Linked DNA regions of Homo sapiens: region 2 is linked to region 1. Evidence: promoter capture Hi-C in 16 types of primary human blood cells and fetal thymus (Javierre and others, 2016). All regions are on one chromosome and are shown on one strand. Each heading gives the region's core, a stretch centred on a gene start or on the middle of the fragment in contact. The rest is flanking DNA. Distances are from core to core; before and after follow the strand shown.

Region 1 (3,979 bases), core at 1,189-3,688:
AAAGTCTATGGCAGAGAATCAGCACCTAGTCCACAGCAGCTCCAGGGATGACCGGGATTCCTTTGGTGGATAGCTGCCCCTGTCCTGGAAGGACATCTGATCTCCATGTAAGATTCCTCACCCCTTCCGAGCACCTGCTAGGCGCCGGGCCCCGGCGGGGTGCCAGGAATACAAAATGAATGATGGGAGAAATGAAATACTGACACTCTACCACATGGTGAGCCTCAAGAAAATCATGCTAAGTGAAAGCAGACAGACACAAAACACCCCATATTGCAGGATGACATTTACATGCAATGTCCCAACAAGGCAAATTCATAGAAACAGAAAAGATTCCTGGTTGCCTGGGGCAGGGGTGAAAATGGGGTAAAATGTGAAGCTAATGAGCATGGGGCACCTCTGCAGGAGGACAGAAGTGTTCTAAGACTGGACTGTGTGTGTGATGGTCATACTTAGCAAAACTTAATGAATTATACACTTAAAATGTGTATAATTTTATGGTATGTAAAGTATCCTTCGGTAAAGCTTAAAAAAAATAAATGGGAGTTAGCAGCTGCAACAATTTTCAAAAGCATCAACTGTGATTTTTCACAGCTAGCTATTCATTTGTGCTTGTCCACAGACATTTCACAAACCTCTAGGGCAGACCTCGGCCATTCCATGAGAAAACTGAGCCCCAACCACCTGGCACTCCTGGTATGCAATGACTTAACTGTCCACAGCATCCAGACGGCTCAGTGATGCCCCCATCCTTGTTGCTGATGGAAACCCACTTGAGAAACACTGCAAGCCATACAAAAAATTAGATCCCATCAAGTCTAAAGACTTCATGAAAAATAATTTCAGAGGTTTTGAAACCACTTGATATATTTTTATTATAATTTTACATGTTTAAAGTCAGGCCAGTCACGGTGGCTCACACCTATAATCCCAGCACTTTGGGAGGCCGAGGCGGGTGGATCACCTGAGGTCAGGAGCTCGAGACCAGCCTGGCCAACATGGCGAAACCCTGTTTCTACTAAAAATACAAAAATTAGCCGGGCGTGATGGCCCACACCTGTAGTCCCAGCTACTCAGGAGGCTGAGGCACGAGAATCACTTGAACCCAGGAGGGGGAGGTTACAGTGAGCCAAGATCGCGCCATTGCACTCCAACCTGGGTGACCCAGCGAGCCTATGTCTCAAAAAAAAAAAAAAAAAAAAAAAAACCCAGCCTGGGTGACAGAATGAGACTCTGTCTCGAAAAAAATAAATAAAAAGAGTCAAAGGATGACAATTTCCTTCCACGCAGTACTTTTTTTCCCCCCAAAATAAAATATTTAATGCTTAAGTGAGGTCAGATAATTAAAAAATCTTTGTTGCTGTAAATAAACATTAAAGAATAATTTCAGTGTGTCACAGATCACTGACTTAAGGAAAAGATACCACTTAGGTTAGGAGGGCACTTTTTTCTTCTTTTTATTTGCACAATTCTATGGAGTATATGTGCAATTTCGTTACATGCATAAATTTCGTAGTGGTCAAGTCAGGACTTCTAGGGTATGCATTACCCGGGAAGGTGTCTTGCACCCATTAAGCAATTCTCATTATCCTCCCTGCACCCACCCCCTCACCCTTCAGAGTCTCCATCATCTGACGTTCCACTCTCCACATCCATGTGAACACATTCTTAAGCACCCACTTAGGAGTGGGAACATGCGATACTTGTCTTTCTGGGCCTGGCTTCACTTAAGATAATGACCTCCACTTCCATCCGTGTGCCGGGGGAGCATTTTTAAACAGTTCGAGGTTTTCCACGCTAGCTTGGAGGCCTTCCATGCCTACAAGTGAGTTCAGAGCCAGGGCCCCCGAAATGCCTTCTGCCCCTTTAGCTTCCTCCAGAGCTCACAGCCCGCCGTGGGCCCTCCGTGAAACGCGCGGAAGGTTTATGACAATCTCAGCAAAGGCGCCAGCTTGCAGGCCTCTCCCCTGCCCTGCTCCCGACCCCAAGGAGAGCAGCGAGCGCCAGGCCCCCGGCCGCCCCCCCGGCTCCGGCCGCCCCCGCCCCGGCCGCCCCCGCTCCGGCTGCCCCCGCCCTGGCTGTCGACCACCAGCGGGGCCTCTGTGCCTGCAGCCAGGCCCCTGCGCACGCCGGGGGAGAGGCCGTACCCGGCGCAGAGCCTCGCCCAGACCGCGGTCCCGGGGAAGCGCGCGTGCCCTCTCCGGGACGCCGAAGTTGCGGTCTGGGAACGGCCGGCGCGGGGCGGGGATCTCCGCGAGGCCCGCTGTGAGGTCCGGCCTTTCCTGGACCGCTCCAGCCGGGCTCGGGAGCAGGAGCCGGCGTCTGGACGGCCCCACCGCGGCCCTCAGCCCGGCCTCACCCAAACACGTGCTCCGAGCTCCAGATCTTCATTGCCGCCGGCGCAGGGCGCGGGCTCTGCGATCCGGGCCGGGTGCTTCGGGCCGCGCGGCTCCGGGCGCGGCGTGGGCGGGGCCTCGATGGGCGGGGCGCCCTTGGATGCCGCCCACCCCGTCTGGTGGCTAGGCTGGCTGCAGCGGCTAAAAATAGCTCTGCGGGCGCGGCTGTGGCGCAGCCCCAGACCTGCGCTGCTACCCTGGGGTGCGCGATGCGCGCTTGCTGCAGATGCCGCGGGCGTAGGAGGCGACGCTCGTCCTTACTCCCACTGTCCAAATTCTCCCAAGGCCCTGTCCAGCTACGCCGGTTTGTACTGTCGGGGACGTGTGATGAAAAACAAACCTGCCAACCCTCAAAACTCCACTGCAGTTTGGGTCTTGAACAAACATTAAACCAGCATGTGAGGCCGGGCGCGGTGGCTCACGCCTGTAATCCCAGCACTTTGGGAGGCCGAGGCGGGCGGATCACGAGGTCAGGAGATCAAGACCATCCTGGCTAACACGGTGAAACCCCGTCTCTACTAAAAATACAAAAAATTAGCCGGGCGTGGTGGCGGGCGCCTGTAGTACCAGCTGCTCGGGAGGCTGAGGCAGGAGAATGGCGTGAACCCGGGAGGCGGAGCTTGCAGTGAGCCGAGATCCCGCCACTGCACTCCAGCCTGGGCAACAGAGCGAGACTCCGTCTCAAACAAAACAAAACAAAACAAAACAAAACAAAACAAAACCAGCATGTGATGTGCATCACAAGCAATCCGCCAAATAGGCTGCAAAGACAGAAATCTCAGCCTGTATCAAACAGCCGGGAGGATGCAACCTACCCCACGCATGCTCCCGAGGTAAACGAGACAGCCCTCCGGGGAGGGGACTCCACTACACCATTTGTCGCAGAGTTCATCCTAAATTCGCCTGATGATGGAGTGGCCATTGGTAAATGCAGTGGCCATTTGCGTTTGCTAATTGCCTTTATCCAAAGGAAAAATGAATTTTCATACCTTTATGACAGGAGGTAGGTTTACAATTTGAAGCCAGGTGCTCTCTGGTAGCTGGGCTCCTACCCTCCCACAAAACTGGGAGACGGGGATGACATTTCAAAGAGATGACTCCCAAGTCCTTGAGAAAATACATTCTTGAGTTATAAAACTGGGGGGAAATCTTATTTAGCTTTAAAAAAATGTACGTGTATCTCAAAAAGAATTTGTGATTACAACTTGGCAAATCCTCTAAGGAAAAAGAGTCTCCCTTTCGCATAAACTACTTTTTAGCTTTGCAAAGTACCCTGCACTGCCACAAACGAAGTTGAAGTGCACGGAAGTGAGATGCTTGTTCTAAGAAGAGGGTACTCTTCTCCAGGATGAGATAGGGCGAGAGGGCAGGGCCCTTGTCTGAGTCGGCTGAGTCTCAGCCTAGAGCAGCGCCTGGCGCCCCTGGGGCGTCCGTGGGCGTGGGGAGCGCATTTGTGCAGTGAGGCAGGGAAGTGGAAGAGCACACAGCATGACCCGAAAGACCTGGGCTACAGTCCTGGCTCCACCGTCCACTCACATTGACCTCTACCTCCTACAGCGTTAAGCTCAGGATGATCTTCCAAA
Region 2 (3,979 bases), core at 403-2,902, 490 kb before region 1:
CGCTCTGTTGCCCAGGCTGGATCGCAGTGGCCTGATTCTGGCTCACCGCAACCTCCACCTCCCGGGTTCAAGCAATTCTCCTGCCTCAGCCTCCTGCATAGCTGGGACTACAGGTGTGCGCCACCATGCCTGGCTAATTTTTGTATTTTTAGTAGAGCCAGGGTTTCACTATGTTGGCCAGGCTGGTCTCAAACTCCTGACCTCGTGATGCACCCACCTCGGCCTCCCAAAGTGCTAGAATTACAGGTATGAGTTACCGCGCCAAGCCTATTTATTCATTTATTTGTTTATTTTTGAGACAGAGTCTCGATCTGTCACCCAGGCTGGAGTGCAGTGGCACGATCTCTGCTCACTGCAACCTCTGTCTCCCAGGTTCAAGCAATTCTCCTGCCTCAGCCTTCTGAGTAGCTGGGACTACAGGCGTGCACCACCACAGCTGGCTAATTTTTGTATTTTTAGTAGAGACGGGGTTTCACCATGATGGCCAGGCTGGTCTCGAACTCCTGACCTCAGGTGATCCGCCCGCCTCAACCTCCCAAAGTGCTGGGATTACAGGTGTGAGCCACCGCGCCCAGCAGGGCTCCATTTAGTTAGGTTTACAGTAGTCCACCCTTATCTGCCATGATCTGTGTAATTTTTGTAAGGGCCACTTGGGTAAATTGAAGGGGACTGCCACCCTCCATCCTTGAAGTTGCTTATGGTGGTGCTACTCTCTGCAATTCCTTCTAGTATTGCTTCTGATTTTTCAGGGACTTCTCTCCTGTGTCTTCCCCCCTATGTCTAGATGTCTAGAAATCATTGTAAGGTTTCTGCCAACTACTAGGTATATATCTATCCTAATTATACATGTGGGAGCTGAGAAAATAACCACAGGCCATGTTCCTGGACCCAGTGGACCCACTGCAGGGTATACTTGGGTCAGAACTCCATGTATCATCTGCCCTTCAAAAGCTCTGAGTGTAACTGGAGGAACATAACAGGATTTCAGGTCCCGTGGTATCTGAAGTTTCAACTCAGATTTTCTATCCATTTCCTTGGCACCATTGGGCTGCTAGGTGGCTGTAGGTTCCATTGGTGAAGGACTAGGGTAATAGTTATCATCTGTATTTTTAGTGGTGGTGCAGAGTCTTTCATTACAGAGAACTGGCAGGCTTCCCTTCAATCAATGTGCATTAGATCTGTGAACTGACTTAGCTTTGGAAATTGAATGAAGGATTGTGATTTTCCATTGCAGTGGCTAATTTCAAACTTCAGCTTCCCAGCACTTCTTTTTTTTTTTTTTCAAATTGTCCAAGTCAAGTCACAACCTAATTGTTGTTCACCCGTCTCAGCCCCTGGAACAGAGCCCACAGATCCTAGCAGGTCACAGCAGCGTAACTGCCATGCTGGCCTTGCTGCCCATGATACTAACTTCATTCCCCTTCTGCTGCTGCCTCCTCTCTGCGATTTCAGAATCCCGTCATGCCCATTGATACCTGGCATCCATTGGCAGGATCTTCCACTGGCCGGCTCTGGCCTACAAAGGACAATTCCTACCAAGCTTCTCAAAGATGGTCATGCCTCCCTCACCAGTGGGTCTTTGTGCTTTATGAAGGGAGTCTCCTCTGAGTCTTCCCAAAGAACACAGCCGGGAAGTGGGTTCTCTGATACCACATACTAAGCCTATTCTAATGTCTAATTTCCCTGAGCTCGTCTAGTATTCTGCCAAGGAAATTAAAGCATCCTCACCTCATTCATTGTAGGTCATCTTCCTGCCCAAGCTTCAGGAAACTATCCGAGCAGTGGATGAGAAGTGGATTCAGATGCCCTGACTAGGACTCCCAAACCAAGGGGTATATTCCTATATCAATAAATCCTTCTCTACCCATCCTTATATTTGCATCTTCCTTGGCCCAACATCTTAAGCTTTATAATTGCCCATTTTCCTCTCCTTCCTGTTGGTCCACATTAGACAGGTCTTACAATTCTTAGGATATATAAGATTTCTGCCTGGAGTTTGGACTGTTTACCTAAGCTGTGTTGGGATCAGACCCTGCTTCTTAGTATGGAGGTAACAAGTGGTGGCAGGGGTTGCTTTTGGGGAGTTAGTGGCTAAAACTGAGTTTCCTTGCCCTTTGAGACACTTTCTCATGTGAGGGCTTCTGTGAATCTAGTAAGAATGGGGGCGCACATCTGCTGGCCTGGGGGAGCCAAAAAAACCTGGGGTTGCAAGGTTCTCAGGCTGGTCCAAGTCCACCCAGGTATTTCTCAAGTCAATGATTTGAGGACGAGACCATTTATGGCTATGCATTCATGCTCCTTTGCATCTCTGTTTTCCTAATAACACAGTGCTGTGCCTGATTTTCATCCACACATTCTACGAATAAAATGAGCGTCTCCATGAATGCAGTTATGGAGCCGCTTTGCTTCCACAACCTGCCTCAAGCTGACAGTTGCAGGTGGAAACCTGTTTGACTTTTTTTTCAAGACGTCCAGAGCATTTAACAAAGACCAGGAACCTCCAAAATCGTTATAGTTCCCCTCGCCCCAATACCACTTAGGTGTCAGAGCTGCCACATGCCCAGTGCTTTACCTTCCACCTGCACCTCATCCCAAGCCACCAGGGTGAGATCCTTAGCAATCGTGATGTTACCAGATGCCACTCACTCCAGCCTCGTGTTTCTTAGCTCTGTGTTTTCCAGCTCCAAAATCCCATCCTGAGAATCTGCTTCCTAGGCCCATGTCTGTGACTAATTACCTTAGCCTGAGTTCCCTGAAAGCAGACCCTGAGACCAAGGCTTGTTGCAAGGACTTTATTTGGGAAAGCGCTTCTAGAGAGCAGCAGTGCAGGGAAGGAGGATGAACAGGTGAGGAGGAAAAGCAAACATAAGAAAGCCTTGTCACGTCCATCACCAGACACAAATGACGCTTGTTCACACTGAGACTGACTTACTTTTTCTTTCTTCCTTTCTTTCTTTCTTTCTTTCTTTTCTTTCTTTCTTTCTCTCTTTCTTTCTCTCTCTCTCTCTCTCTCTCTCTGTCTCTCTCTCTCTCTCTCTGTCTGTCTGTCTCTCTCTCTCTTTTTCTTTTTAAGACAGAGACTCACTCTGTCACCCAGGCTGGAGTGCAATGGCACGATCTTGGCTCACTGCAACCTTCGCCTCCTGGGTTCAAGAGATTCTTCTGCCTCAGCCTCCTAAGTAGCTGGGATTACAGGTGCCTGACACCACACCCAGCTAATTTTTGTATTTTTAGTAGAGATGGGGTTTCACCATGTTGGTCAAGCTGGCCTCAAAGTCCTGATCTTAGGTGATCCACCCGCCTTGACCTCCCAAAGTGCTGGGATTACAGGCATGAGTCACCACGCCCGGCCCCCACTGGGACTTTCTAAGGAGCCATGAGAAATGCATCCGAGAATCGGCCACCTGGAGGCTCGGTGCAGTGGCTCACATTTATAATCCCAGCACTTTGGGAGGCTGAGGCAGGAAGATCCCTTGAGTTCAGGAGTTCAAGACCAGCCTGGGCAATATAGTGAGACCTTATCTCTACAAAAAAACTTTTTTTTAATTAGCTGGACATGTTGGCATGCACCTAGTCCCAGCAACTCAGGAGGCTGAGGTGGGAGGATCACTTGAGCCCGGGAGGTCAAGGCTGCAGTGAGCCATGATCACACCATTGCCCTCCAGCCTGGGCAACAGAGCAAGACCTTGTTTCAAAACAAAACAAAACAAAAGCAAAACAAAAAAAAATCAAATAATTGCCTTCCTGGGGTGTGAAAGGGGAAATCAACATCGGTTAAGAGTGGTGCCGCGGCGGCGGCGGCGGCGGCGGCGGCGGCGGCCTCGACCTGGCCCGGCGGCGGCCTCGATGGCTCAGGCGTCTTGGCTCCCGACGGGCGCTGCTCCCTGGCGCGCTCTGTTGAGGCGCCGGCCGGCTGGCGCAGTCCTGTGGGCAGCGTGGCGCTTGCAAGCGCAGGAAGAGTTCTGGGGGGACCGCGGTG

Evidence for each region. Contacts are between HindIII fragments. The CHiCAGO score rates a contact against its expected background, and 5 or more counts as called.
Region 2: a fragment that was not itself captured here is called in contact with the fragment with the promoter of PRELID3A in region 1 in 4 of 17 cell types (endothelial precursors, non-activated CD4 T cells, total B cells and 1 more); the score reaches 6.6 in endothelial precursors.

What each region holds. Positions count from the first base shown.
Region 1 is chr18:12,406,388-12,410,366 of GRCh38, reverse strand. It overlaps PRELID3A (PRELI domain containing 3A), which reads right to left and starts at 2,438. Exons shown (of 7, transcript NM_001142405.2): 1 at 2,360-2,438. The coding sequence starts at 2,391. RefSeq lists enhancers at 1,611-1,860, 1,718-2,377, 2,378-3,039 and a silencer at 2,061-2,640. The HindIII fragment of the contact is 9,540 bases long and covers 528-3,979 here.
Region 2 is chr18:12,896,947-12,900,925 of GRCh38, reverse strand. No RefSeq gene overlaps it. Among named protein-coding and RNA genes, the nearest start is that of PTPN2, 15 kb to the right of the region's middle. The HindIII fragment of the contact is 220 bases long and covers 1,543-1,762 here.